3 separate regions of the Homo sapiens genome follow, and all the other regions are linked to region 1. The links are contacts of gene promoters, found by promoter capture Hi-C in blood cells and fetal thymus (Javierre and others, 2016). All regions are on one chromosome and are shown on one strand. The core of a region is centred on a gene start or on the middle of the fragment in contact, and the rest is flanking DNA. Distances in the headings are between cores, read along the strand shown.

Region 1 (4,127 bases), core at 630-3,129:
TGGTCCTTCCCCTCTGGGTACCCAGGGGTACCCCAGGTGTGGATGATGAAACTCTGGTCTAGGCACATGAATGGAAGAAGGAAAGAAAAGATTCCCACCACAGAGACCACTGACTTCGTGTCTCAACAGACCTGAGTTCAAATCCAGACTACCATTTGCTGGTTGTGTGATCTTGGGCAAGGCACTTAGCCTTGCTGGTCCTCAGTTTCCTCATCTGCACAGTTGGGAAAATAACAGCCACTGCAGGGTGGCAGTGTGGCTTGAATTTCATTGCATTTGCAATGTTCCTCCAGAGGGCAAGGCATAAGTAGATGCTCAATGCATGTTACTTTCTTCCCTCTGCCCCTCTCTGTGAGCTCCCACCTCATGGGGGAGACCAGCAACATGCAGAGGAACACAGAATCAGAGGCCAAGAGCAGACAAGGACTGAGCCAGGGGCTGAAGGCTGGACCTCTGGTTTACTGGCAGGTTCAGAAATGTACAGTTTTCCTTATCTGTGAAATGGACATAAAATTGTCTTCTCCCATAAGGTTGTTGAGAGAAATACAGATAAACCTGAAAAGCATCAGCACAGTGCCTGGCACATAGTAAGCAATTAACCAATGGCAGCTGGCACTATCATGATTATTCTTGAGGGTGCAGGAGGGTGCAGAGTCAGGAGGAGTTTCTTGGAGAAGATGAGTAAAGAACAGATTTGGGAAGTGGATAACTTCCTTGGGAGCTCCCTTGCCCTGGGAGCAGAGGTGGACACGAGTGCCCCAGACCTGTTGCAGGCCATGGGTAGTGGAGTCTAGGAAGTGTGGTTGTGATGCTGAGGATGCACCTCCCGCAGTCAGGAGGGGCGCAGGGTGCAGGAAGGCCCAACTGGCTTCCCTGTTCTGACTCGAGGCATCGTCCCCTGCATTCCTATCTCCTGACACCTGAGCTGCACCCTCACTTGCAGCAGTCTGGGCAGCAACCTCCTTCCAGCAGCCCCGCACTCACCCTCCACCCTGCTGGCTTTTCTGACTGGGGCAGCTGAGAGAGATGCTGTGGGACCAGAGGCTTGAGGGATAAACAGGAGCGTGGTGCCTGGGAGGCCATCTCCCCTGTCCACTTGCCTCAGAGTAGGACCGCAGAGCATGCCTCCATCAGCCATTCCTGCGAGAGGGCACCCCTGGCCACACTAGGTGGTCCTCCCCAGTCCCTGCCTGGGTGGTGGGTGACCCCAGGTCATGCAGCATGTTATTATCAACACATCCCTCAAAGGCCATCCTGGGGTCCCTTTCTCCCCACATGCCAGGATGGATCAGGGACTTCCCTCCCCCAGCCTCTGCTCAGAGCTAGCCTGTCGGGTTAGCAGTGCCATCTCCCCATTGGCTGGGTGCAGGGGTGGGGCGCGGTGATCGATGCTCAGGGAAACACAGAGCTCAGCTACCGGCCCAGGCCTGGCAGCCCTTCATGTTTGGGACCCCCTACTTGTGCTCACCTTGCCAATTAGGGAGGCAAATTTATCATTGAGGGCCTTCATCTCCTCCTTCTCCTGGTTCTTCAGCTGCTGAACAGCGGGGTCCAACTTGACATCCAGGGGCACCAGCAGGCCGGGGTTCACAGTCACCTTGGAGATAGTGCCAGCCGACCAGCAGCCTGTGAGGCTGCGGGAGCTGAAGCCCGGCCCGGGGGCCCTGCAGCTGTCCCATCCTGAGGTTCCAGGCCGGGGGCTGCCCACCGGGGTCACCTCACAGCTGCTGAGGCTGCTGAAGCCAACCACGCAGGAGCGGCAGGCCATGGTGCCCCCGGCCGGAAGCAGGAGGGCCCAGGGGGGTGAGCGAGTGAGCCTGGGGTTGCGTCGGGTGGCAGGCTCTGGTTGCTCTGGTCACAGCTGGGGCGGGCTGGGGACTGAGGAGCAGACACCTGTTGCACAGTGCTCATTAGCTGCAGGAGGGCGGGACGCCTCCCAGCCTGACCAACCTGTTGGATGATGTGGGTGCTCCCGCCCCTCCCCCAGCAGCATGTAGGTCTCCCTCCCAACAGGTATCTGCATTGCTTAGGGGGCTGGTCCACAGCCCCCTGCCCCAAAGAAAGCAGGCCTAGCTCTGGGGAGGGGGCCAAGGCTGGACTGGCCGGGTGGGTTGGGGGTGGGGAGTTGGCAAAAGGAAGGCCATTCAAGGGGGCAGGAGAGAAGAGAGAGCGCCTCACCGCAGACCTCACTGCATACTTGAAGGCTGACGTATCTGGGCTCACATACTTCTGGAAAAGATGAGTCAAGCATAGGCCTTGAGCTCCCGAGTGTAGGGCAGCTATCCTGGGCACCGTGCCAGCCTGGCACTGGAAAACAGCACTTATTATTTATTTTCTGGCTGCCAAAGAGTCTCCCTGGCTTATCTTCCCCCTTCCTTCTACCCCCTCTCCCTTCCTTCCTTCCTTCACTTTAACTAGCATTGATTGAGGACCTACTATGTACACCCTACTGTCTCAGAGGCTGGGAGGACATAGACGGTCAAGGCCAAGGAGCTCTCAGCATTGGAAATGTGAGACCTGGTTCAAGACTCAGCTGGACTGCTCACCACTCATGTGACCTCAGGCACGTTACTTGACTTTTGTCTTCATTTGTAAAGTGGGGATGAAAACACCCACCTCACAGGAGGTAGCATGTACAAAGCACTTGGTAGAGGACAGGGGACAAAGTTGGCCTCAATCAGTGGTACTGCCTTCCGGGTGCTGAGTCTAGCAGGGGCGATGGGTATGGCTGAATGCAGCTCTGCTCTGGGGCAATGAGAATCCCTGCCTTCCTCACACTCTTTCCTCCCCACTCTTCTTTCTCTTCTCTGCCTCCTTTGACCTCTTTTACACCATCTGTGAAGTAGAAATAGAAAAGACCCCATTTTGCCCCCACAGAGCCTCTGACAGGGCGGCAGAGGCCCACCTGGCCCAGGGCAATGCCTACCTTTCCACAGTTCCTGAGACCCCACTCTCCCACCCCAGGGGGTTACCAGCTCTCCCAGCCCTGCGTCTCCTTTCCTGGCCTGGTGGTCCTGATGTTCTGGCCCTGGTGGCTGGATCTGCATGTCTTTCCTGGACCTGGCTCAATCCTGCTCTGGGTGGCAGGGGCCAGAGCAGAGAGAGGAGTGTGTCTGGGAGAGTCACAGATGGTCAGAGATAGAAGGGGTAGCAGCCCCCTCTGGGCCCAGAGGAAGAGAGAGCCCCTGAGCGGGGAGAACCATTTGCCAGTCACATCGCGGACCCTGGGCCTCCACCTCCAGGGCAGACATCTTTTTCACACACTAGGCACTTCTGGCTCACAAGGGCACAGGACCCTGTCTAGAGGCCACGGGTCCATCCTAAGCCTGATCCCAGGATCTGGTGCCGGGTAGGGTAGCGAGGCACTGGTGGGTGACTGACGTGCGCCACGCTCCCCACTCAACACCCACGTGTGGGGCCACCTTGGCCTCCCACCGTCCTCACTCTGGCCTGGCATCCGAATGGCATGTGGTCAAGCACAGCACCTTGCCCCCCACCCGTCACCCCTGTGTACTCTGTGGGGAAGGGAGGGGGCAGCAGTGGCGTCTGGGCTCTGCCAAGGCCAGAATAACAGCTGATACATCAGATATGTCCCAGATGCTTTGCAGGAATTAGCTCCTCAATCCTGACAACCACCACTTGAGGTGGACACTTTAATTCTCATCACTCCAAATGACAGAGGAGGAGGCTCAGGGGGCTGGAGTGTCTAGTCTAAGGCCACACGATTATGATGGATGGGAACCTGGACAGTTGGGGTGAGGAGCTCTTTAATCTGAGCCTCTAAGTTTTAGGACCCCTAGAAAGGGTAGCGGGTTAGAGAAGGAAGCTGCCTTCTTACTGTCTGGGGTGCAGTTTAGGGCAGCCCCGCCACCTAATTCTCTCGGAGCCGAACGCTTTTTTCTCCCAAGTGCCTGTGCATGACTTAAATCTATTTCTTGCTTCCTTCCTTTGGCCTCAGTCAGCTCCTGAGAGTTGACAGGTCTTGGTTAATTGCCAAGTCCCTGGCTCCTAGGCTGGCTTTGCAGGGCTTGCCTCTTGGGCCCCACACCAGGGGGCTTTGCTTTCGGATGTCTTCACCTCCCTGGAGCAATGGAAGGCATGCTAGCCTGGGGCTCTGGGCTGGGGGA
Region 2 (4,127 bases), core at 750-3,249, 790 kb after region 1:
GTCTCCTCCTCTGACACCTCTTATGAGCACCACTCATCAAGATGGTCCCTTTAGTACTTGGCGTGCCTGGCCCCACATGTTGGCTGGCATTGTTTATTTGAATGAACATTGCCTTGGTACAATGATGGAGCCTGCTCTGTCCTCCTAGAAGAGACAGGAGAGAGAAGCCCATAGCAAGGGTCAAAAACTCCCAGCCTGAACCTGGGAGATGTCCATATACTGATGAAATGAGAGGTTCCCCTCTGGGTTCCAATGCACAAGCCCTGTACCAGATGAGGGAGCCATAAGGGATGCAGACAGAGACTCAAAGACAGAGACAAGGGCTGAGGGAGGGGGGATGGAAAGAACTGGGGAGCCAAAGACTGCAGCGGGGAAAGAATGCAGTGTCCATCCTAAAAGAAGGAAAATGGAAGTTTCCCAGGGAGGAGGGTGCCTGATCTTATCTGCTGTTTACATTCCAGAGAGCCCCTGCTTCTGCTTCTCATCTTAATTAGAGAATACTTGAGAAGCCCTGCCGCCGTGCAGAGAGAAAGGAATGCAGGCCCCCACTAAACCCCAGCCTGCCCCCCTCACCCCTGACCTCCTGCTGGCTATGTGGTGGGACTGATGGGAGTCTGGGTTCTGGATCCATTTTCTGTTTTCTGTTTTTTTGTCTACAGTGGGCTGATCCATTAAGCTGGATTCCTTGAGAGAGTATGTGAGAGGGTCTGGGAACTGTCAGGGCTCCACTCCTGCAGGAAACAAACAAACAAACAAACAAACAAAATTAAAAAGTATTAGAAAGAGCCACTGAGAGGAACAGCTGAGATTCTCTCAGTCAGTCTGCCATTCACCCCCTCAAACATCGCCCTCACTCCACCACCATAATGTCCAGGCAGGGTGCTGACACTTCACCGTTCACCTCCCACCCTGCCCCGGGCTGTCCTCCAAATGTGTGTCAGACACAGTGCTGGGGGACTTATACTTCTGTCATAGTCTCTGTCTTCAGTAGCATATGGTAAGAGCCAGGATCCGCTATTAAACATGCTGTGAGTGGGTAGAGACAAAGTCTTGTCTTGTAGGGTGAGCAGGCAGTGAGGTCAGAAAGGGCATCACAGGTAGAGGAAAAAGCATGGGCAGAGGTCTGGAACCCAGTCCCTCTTCATACCACCCGCTGACCCTTTCCCCTCCCCCCCACATGAGATTTCTCCCCCTCTCTTCTCTCTTCTCTCCCTCAACAATTCCAGGGTTGCCCACCTGAAAACAAGCTCCCTGGACCACCTTCCCTTGCAGCTCTCTGTTCCTTCTCTCTTTTTTTTTTTTTTTTTTTTTTGAGACGGAATCTCACTCTGTCACCCAGGCAGGAGTGCAATGGTGTGATCTCAGCTCACTGCAGCCTCTGCCTCCCAGGTTCAAGTGATTCTCCTACCTCAGCCTCACGAGTAGCTGGGATTACAGGTGCCCACCACCACACCCAGCTAATTTTTGTATTTTTACTAGAGATGGTGTTTCACCACATTGGCCAGGCTGGTCTCGAACTCCTGACCTCAGGTGATCCACCCGCCTCAGCCTTCCAAAGTGCTGGGATTACAGGCGTGAGCCACTGCGCCTGGCCAGCTCTCTGTTCCTTCTCATAGCTAAGCATCTTACATCATTCTCTCTCGTTTTGTTGTTGTTTTGTTGTTGTTGTTGTTGTTGTTGTTGTTGTTGTTTGAGACAGAGTTTTGCTCTTGTTGCCCAGGCTGGAGTGCAGTGGCGCGATCTCGGCTCACTGCAACCTCCACTTCCAGGGTTCAAGTGATTCTCCTGCCTCTGCCTCCCAAGTAGCTGGGATTATAGGCATGCGCCACCACACCTGGCTAATTTTGTATTTTTAGTGGAGATGGGGTTTTATCATGTTGGTCAGGCTGGTCTCAAACTCCTGACCTCAGGTGATCCACTTGCCTCGGCTTCCCAAAGTGCTGGGGTTACAGGCTTGAGTCACTGCATCTGGCCTTACATTATTCTCAAAAGAGGTCTACACACAGGCTTTCCCCTTCCTCACCCAGTTCACTCTTCAGCCCCTCCAGGCTGGCTCAGCTCGTATGGCTCCTCAGAAGCTGCACTAGCCAAGGTTCCCAGAGACCTCCATGTTGTTGAAATCGATGGACACTTGACATTCCTTTTGTTCCTTGACCACTTAGCTTCCAGCAGCTGCATGCTCCCTCCTTCTTTTTTTTTTTTTTTTTTTTTTGAGATGGAGTTTCACTCTTGTTGCCCAAGCTGGAGTCCAGTGGCATGATCTTGGCTCACTGCAACCTCCATCTCCCAGGTTCAAGCGATTCTCTTGCCTCAGCCTTCCAAGTAGCTGGGATTATAGGCGTGTGCCACCACACCTGGCTAATTTTTTGTATTTTTAGTAGAGACAGGGTTTCACCATGTTAGCCAGGCTGGTCTCGAACTCCTGACCTCAGGTGATCCACCTGCCTCGGCCTCCCAAAGTGCTGGGATTACAGGCATGAGCCACAGCACCCAGCCTCTCCCTCCTTCTTGAAACACTCTCCTTCCTAGTCTCCCAGACACCTCGTGCCAGGCTTTTCTCTAGTTATAGTTTCTCGGTCCCTTTTCCCCACTCACCCTCCTTGACATGGTCTGTAACTTGATGTTTCTGATCTATAAATTGACCTGATATAAAGTTGATGTTCCTCAGGGCTGGGTCCTGGCCCCTATTCTCTTATTAATAGGGACTATTTTCTTGAGTCATCTCATACCTTGCCCTGGTTTTAATTGCATCTTCTATAGACCAAAGACTTCCAGATTGTGATGTCCAACCAGACCTTTCTTGTGAGCTCCAGAGCAGCCTATGGAATATTCTACTTAATGCCTCTTTTTAGATGACTCTTAGGCATCTCAAATTTAACCTGTTCAAAACTGGATTATTGATCTTAGCTCCCACCAGCTTCATAATTCTTGTTCATCTTAGTAAATGACACACCATCCATCTAATTGCTTGTGCCAGAAACCTGGGAATCATATTTGACACCTCCTTCTCTCTTGGTCTACCCTATGGATCTAATAAATTAATAACCCTACTTCCACAGTAAGTCCAAATCTATTCCTTTCTCCCCATCCACACCCCACATCCAGGCTGTAGGCATCTGTCCTCTGTACTATCACTGCAACATCTTCCTAACAGAAAGTCTTCTCATGGCCACCAGTAACCACTCAGCCTTCCTCCACACACCAGCCAACATGGTCTTCTTTAAAAATAAATCTCAGCCGGGCTTGGTGGCTCACACCTGTAATCCCAGCCAAAGTGGGCGGATCACCTGAGGTCAGGAGTTCAAAACCAGCCTGGCCAATGTGGCAAAACCCCATCTCTACCAAAAAAAAAAAAAAAATTAGCCGGGCATGGTGGCAGGTGCCCATAGTCCCAGCTACTCAGGAGGCTGAGGCAGGAGAATCACTTGAACCCAAGAGGCAGAGGGTGCAGTGAACCAAGATGGTGCCACTACTCTCCAGCCTGGGTGACAGAGCAAGACTCCATCTCAAAAAAATAAATAAATAAAAATAAAAATAAATGTGTGCCAGGCCCAGTGGTCCCAGCTACTTGGGAGACTGAGGTGGGAGAATCTCTTGAGCCCAGAAGTTTGAGACCAGCCTGGGCAACAGAGCAAGACCACCTCTAAAAAATATATAAATAAATAATAAATAGATAAAACTAGATCTCATAATATCCCTCACCTACTTAAAACCCTTCCGTGACCCAGGAAGCATCCAGACTCCATGGCCAGTGCCCTGACTCTGTGTTCCAGCTCCTCTTTTTGCAGTCTCCCCTGCTGACCAGCCTCCAGCCACACCATTCACTCCACACACACACTCCTCCCTTAGCTCCCTCCCACCTCCTCATCAGCGATCTCTCCCTCACCTTCCGAGGCTCTGGCTAAATGCTCTGGTATACAGAAGGAGCTTGATGAGTATGGGGAAGGTATGGGAACAGAGGAAGGGAGGAAAAGCCATGGCGACAGGGTGACACTTATAGCAACAAGTTGTATGGTGAGGGGGGCAGGTTAAGGGATGAGGCTGCAGAGCTCCCTTGAACTATCCCTTTAAGCATTTTGTAATGACTCCTATCCCTTTAAGCATTTCATAGCAAGATCTGCACCTGT
Region 3 (4,127 bases), core at 1,078-3,577, 730 kb after region 1:
CTTCATCTCAAAAGAAGAAGAAGAAGGAGAAGGAGGAGAAGGAGAAAAAGAAGAAGGAGAAGGAGAAGAGGAAGAAGAGGAAGAGGAAGAAGAAGAAGAGGAAGAGGAAGAAGAAGAAGAAGGAGAGGAAGGAGAGGAAGAAGAAGGAGAAGAAGAAGAGGAGGAGGAGAAGAAGAAGAAGAGGAAGAAGAAGGAGAAGAAGAAGAGGAGGAGGAGGAGAAGAAGAAGAGGAAGAAGAAGAAGAAGAAGAGGAAGAAGAAGGAGGGGGAGAGGGAGAGGGAGAAGGGGAAGAAGAAGAAGAAGAGGAAGAGGAAGAAGAAGAAGAAGAAGAAGAACAAGAAGAAGAAGAAGAAGAAGAAGAAGAAGAAGAAGAAGAAGAAGAAGAAGAAACAAAACAGAGTCTGCGTCAACTGGGAAGTTCATGAGGAGGGTTCAGGCAGAAGGTCAAGGGGCCTCTACTGTATCAGCTGGGTTGTTGGAGCCTCAGAAACATGCAGGCCTACTGTATGCGCTGCATGCATCACCTCATTTAAATTCATAAAGATCCCACCAGGCCGAGATGGAAAAGTGCCTACATTCACACAGCTGTGAAGGGAAGAACTGGCATCTGAGCCCCGCCAGACAGACGCCGCGCAGGTGCAGCTGCCCCGAGCCTGCCCATGCATGTTCTGCTGCCCCAAAGCCATGTGTGACCAAAACCCAAAGGACAGAGGGTGCAACCAGAAGAATTTCGCAGCCACTTCCTAATGGTGTTAAGAGTTACTTCACCAGCTGAAAATGCAGATAGTAACAACTACCTCAGAAGACTGACATGATCATCAGGTAAGGAACAGTGCCTAAAATAGCAGGTTTTCAAGACATGTTAGCTTGACTCTCACCAACCCTCCCTGCTTGTCCCCCAGCCTTTCCCAAAGCCTTTCTCCACACAATTTCCCCCATTCCCTCACCACCTTCAGACCACCCTCCCCCATGGAACTTGTGTTCACATCACTTTGATACATTTGCCTTGTGAGAGTTTAAGCCTTGTGTTTCCCTGCATGAAATAACCTCCTTGCAGAACAGAACAGTGTCTGCTGCCTCTTCCCAGGGTAGGTGGTCAAGTGGAAGAAAGTGCTAGCTCAGCAGGGTGGAGGGTAACTAGGAGGTGGCAATTGGGTCTATAAGGAGGAGCTTATAGGATAGTAATAAAGAAATAGCATGTAAAAATCCGCCATTATGCAAAACAGAAGCTTGCAAATCCAATTCCTAGGGAGCTAGCCATGCAAACAGAGCCCTGCCTACTGACGCCCACTTGCTTTCCCCAACTCTCAACCCAGGGCTCCTTTCCCTGCCAATGATGGTGGCAGTGGTAGTGATTAGGATTGGGAACCATGGTGATCATGATGGGTTTCTTTTTTGTTTTTTTGTTTTTGAGACAGAGTCTCACTCTGTCACCCAGTCTGGAGTGCATGTAGTGGCACTACCTCAGCTCACTGCAACCTTCGCTTCCCGGGTTCAAGCAATTCTCCTGTCTCAGCCTCCCAAGTAGCTGGGACTACAGGCATGTACCACCACTCTCTGCTAAGTTTTTGTATTTTTAGTAGAGACAGGGTTTCACCATGTTGACCAGGCTGGTCCCAAACTGCTGGCCCCAAGTGATCTGCTCGCCTCAGCCTCCCAAAGTGCTGGGATTACAGGTGTGAGCCACCATGCCCAGCCATGGCTTTCATTTTCAGGGTTCCTACCAAGTGTCAAAGTGTCAGATCTCTTACATATATTATATATTATTTTATTTTATTTTAGTCTATTTTATTTTGAGATGGAGTCTTGCTCTGTTGCCCAGGCTGGAGTGCAGTGGCACGATCTTGACTCACTGCAACCTCCACCTCCTGGGTTCTCAAGCTATTCTCCTGCCTCAGCCTCCCAAGTAGCTGGGACTAAAGACCTGCACCACCATGCCCGGATAATTTTAGTATTTTTAGTGAGACAGGGTTTCACCATGTAGGCCAGGCTAGTCTTGAACTCCTGACCTCAGGGGATCTGCCTGCCTTGGCCTCCCAAGGTGCTGGGATTACAGGCGTGAGCCACCGCACCTATTATTTATAATCCTAAACTAATCCATGAGGAAGGTAACATTGTTCTCATTTTACAGACAAGGAAACTAAAGCCCAAGGTCCTTTGGTTAGTGTGACAGAGACAGGAATTGAACCCAAGTCTGGAGTAATTTTAGAGCTTGAACATTCTCTTTTCAATTATGCTGTTTTATAGTCAGGATCCAATTATGTCCATTAAGAGATGTAATAATGTCAATAACTCAAAAGGGAGGATTCAAAACATGTTTATTATTTTATTTAGCAATCCAAAAGAGCTATATTACATTTATTTATTGAGCATCTGTACTACCTCTCCTACAGTAGGGATTCTGGCAGACTTGGGGGACCTCTCCCCATCAAAATGGACAGCCCCAGCCCAGGCACGGTGGCTCACGCCTGTAATCCCAGCACTTTGGGAGGCCAAGGCAGGCAGATCACCTGAGGTCAAGAGTTTGAGACCAGCCTGACCAACATGGAGAAACCCCATCTCTACTAAAAATACAAAATTAGCCAGGCATGGTGGCACATGCCTGTAATCCCAGCTACTTAAGAGGCTGAGGCAGGCGAATTGATTGAACCCAGGGGGCAGAGGTTGGGGTGAGCTGAGATTGTGCCATTGCACTCCAGCCTGGGCAACAAGAGCGAAACTCCATCTGAAAAAAAATTAAAAATGGACAGCCCCATGAGGGCAGAGACCTTGACTATGTTGTTGACCGTCACATCCACAGCATTAGAAAGACATCTAACAGGCACTCCACCAGTATATGATGAACGAATTCACAAATGGCTGAACCAGCCTGCCAGGTAAGCCTGTGCCCAGCCAGGCACAGTGGCTCACACCTGTAATCCCAGTACTTTGGAAGGCCAAGGGAAGATCACTTGAGGCCAGGAGTTCAAGACCAGCCTGGACAACCAGCGACATAGCAAGACCCTGCATGTGTGCATATATGTCTGTAAGACAGAAAATGAGACAGAGAGACTCTAGAGAGCACGCAGCTCAGCTAAAGAAAAGACCTGCTACCCACCACTCTGTAACCAACCTGCCCCCACCCCATTCCCTGGTCTCTAAGGACTAAGATAACCCCAACTCAGATACAATGACCCATTCATAGGCCTTTAGGAAAATCTGTTGACCTGGATGGTGGGAATGGGCTAAGCCCAGGCCAGCCCAGGCCAGCTTAGCCTCAGGGACCTGTTAGTCAAGTTCCCATGGCAACACAACTAATTGTGTGTTTATGCATTCCCTACAGAACTCCAGGCAGAGGCCATCTATTCCCCAAGGCCACATTCTACCTTCTCTCTCCTTCCTTGCCTCCCCAAGTTTCCTGGGTGACCATCCAGGGAACATTAAGAGAAGCTTAAGTAGCAACAGCAGCCTCCAGAACATGGAAGGCAAAGGAGGGAAAGCCTCTCTGAGGGAGAGGACCAGTACTTCTTGCTCACAATTGTCCAGCTGCAAAAGTCAAACTCCCTAGTCCTCCTCCTGGACCCACAGTTCTATGGCTTCGATGGCTCCCACATGTCACCACACTAAACCTCCACCCCCAGGCCCCCATGGCCTGACCCTATCCTACTTGACTGCCAGCTCCTGCACAAACTCCCTCTTCACTTATGCAGTGCACAGGCCCAGGGCCCCTCCTTCCTCTCTCTTTGTGTCCCTCTAGCCTGGCTCTACCCCCAAGGACTTCCTTCAGGAAGCCCTCCCAGATGGACTATTCCTCCCAGGCTTCTCCCTCCAGCCCTCCAGCCTGGAGCCTCTGATTGTGCATCCCCAGCTGTGGCCGGATCTCCCAGAGCTGGGCATGGGTTCAGCTATTCCCCCATGGCCTAGCAGTTTCCTTAAGGTGGTAAAGCTTTTAATTCTTACAGAAACTATAAAATAAGCATTATCTGCATTCTAGAGTGGAGAACACTGAGCCTCAGGATTAAAAGCAATGTGCACTGCTTGGCACAGTGGCTCACACCTGTAATCCCAGCACTTTGGAAGGCCAAAGTGGGAGGATGGCTTGAGGCTAGGAATTCAAGACCAGCCTGGACAACACAGCAAGACCCTGT

The links. Contacts are between HindIII fragments. The CHiCAGO score rates a contact against its expected background, and 5 or more counts as called.
Region 2: a contact is called between a fragment that was not itself captured here and the fragment with the promoter of KRT80 in region 1, in 2 of 17 cell types (endothelial precursors and total CD4 T cells). The highest score is 8.2, in endothelial precursors.
Region 3: a contact is called between a fragment that was not itself captured here and the fragment with the promoter of KRT80 in region 1, in 2 of 17 cell types (endothelial precursors and total CD8 T cells). The highest score is 6.4, in endothelial precursors.

Annotation. Positions count from the first base shown.
Region 1 is chr12:52,190,135-52,194,261 of GRCh38, forward strand. It overlaps KRT80 (keratin 80), which reads right to left and starts at 1,880. Exons shown (of 9, transcript NM_182507.3): 1 at 1,469-1,880. The coding sequence starts at 1,768. The HindIII fragment of the contact is 31,387 bases long and covers 1-4,127 here.
Region 2 is chr12:52,976,460-52,980,586 of GRCh38, forward strand. No RefSeq gene overlaps it. Among named protein-coding and RNA genes, the nearest start is that of EIF4B, 28 kb to the right of the region's middle. The HindIII fragment of the contact is 5,548 bases long and covers 1-4,127 here.
Region 3 is chr12:52,917,870-52,921,996 of GRCh38, forward strand. It overlaps a transcript of KRT8 not described here. Among named protein-coding and RNA genes, the nearest start is that of KRT8, 15 kb to the left of the region's middle. RefSeq lists enhancers at 170-671, 672-1,171. The HindIII fragment of the contact is 2,200 bases long and covers 1,228-3,427 here.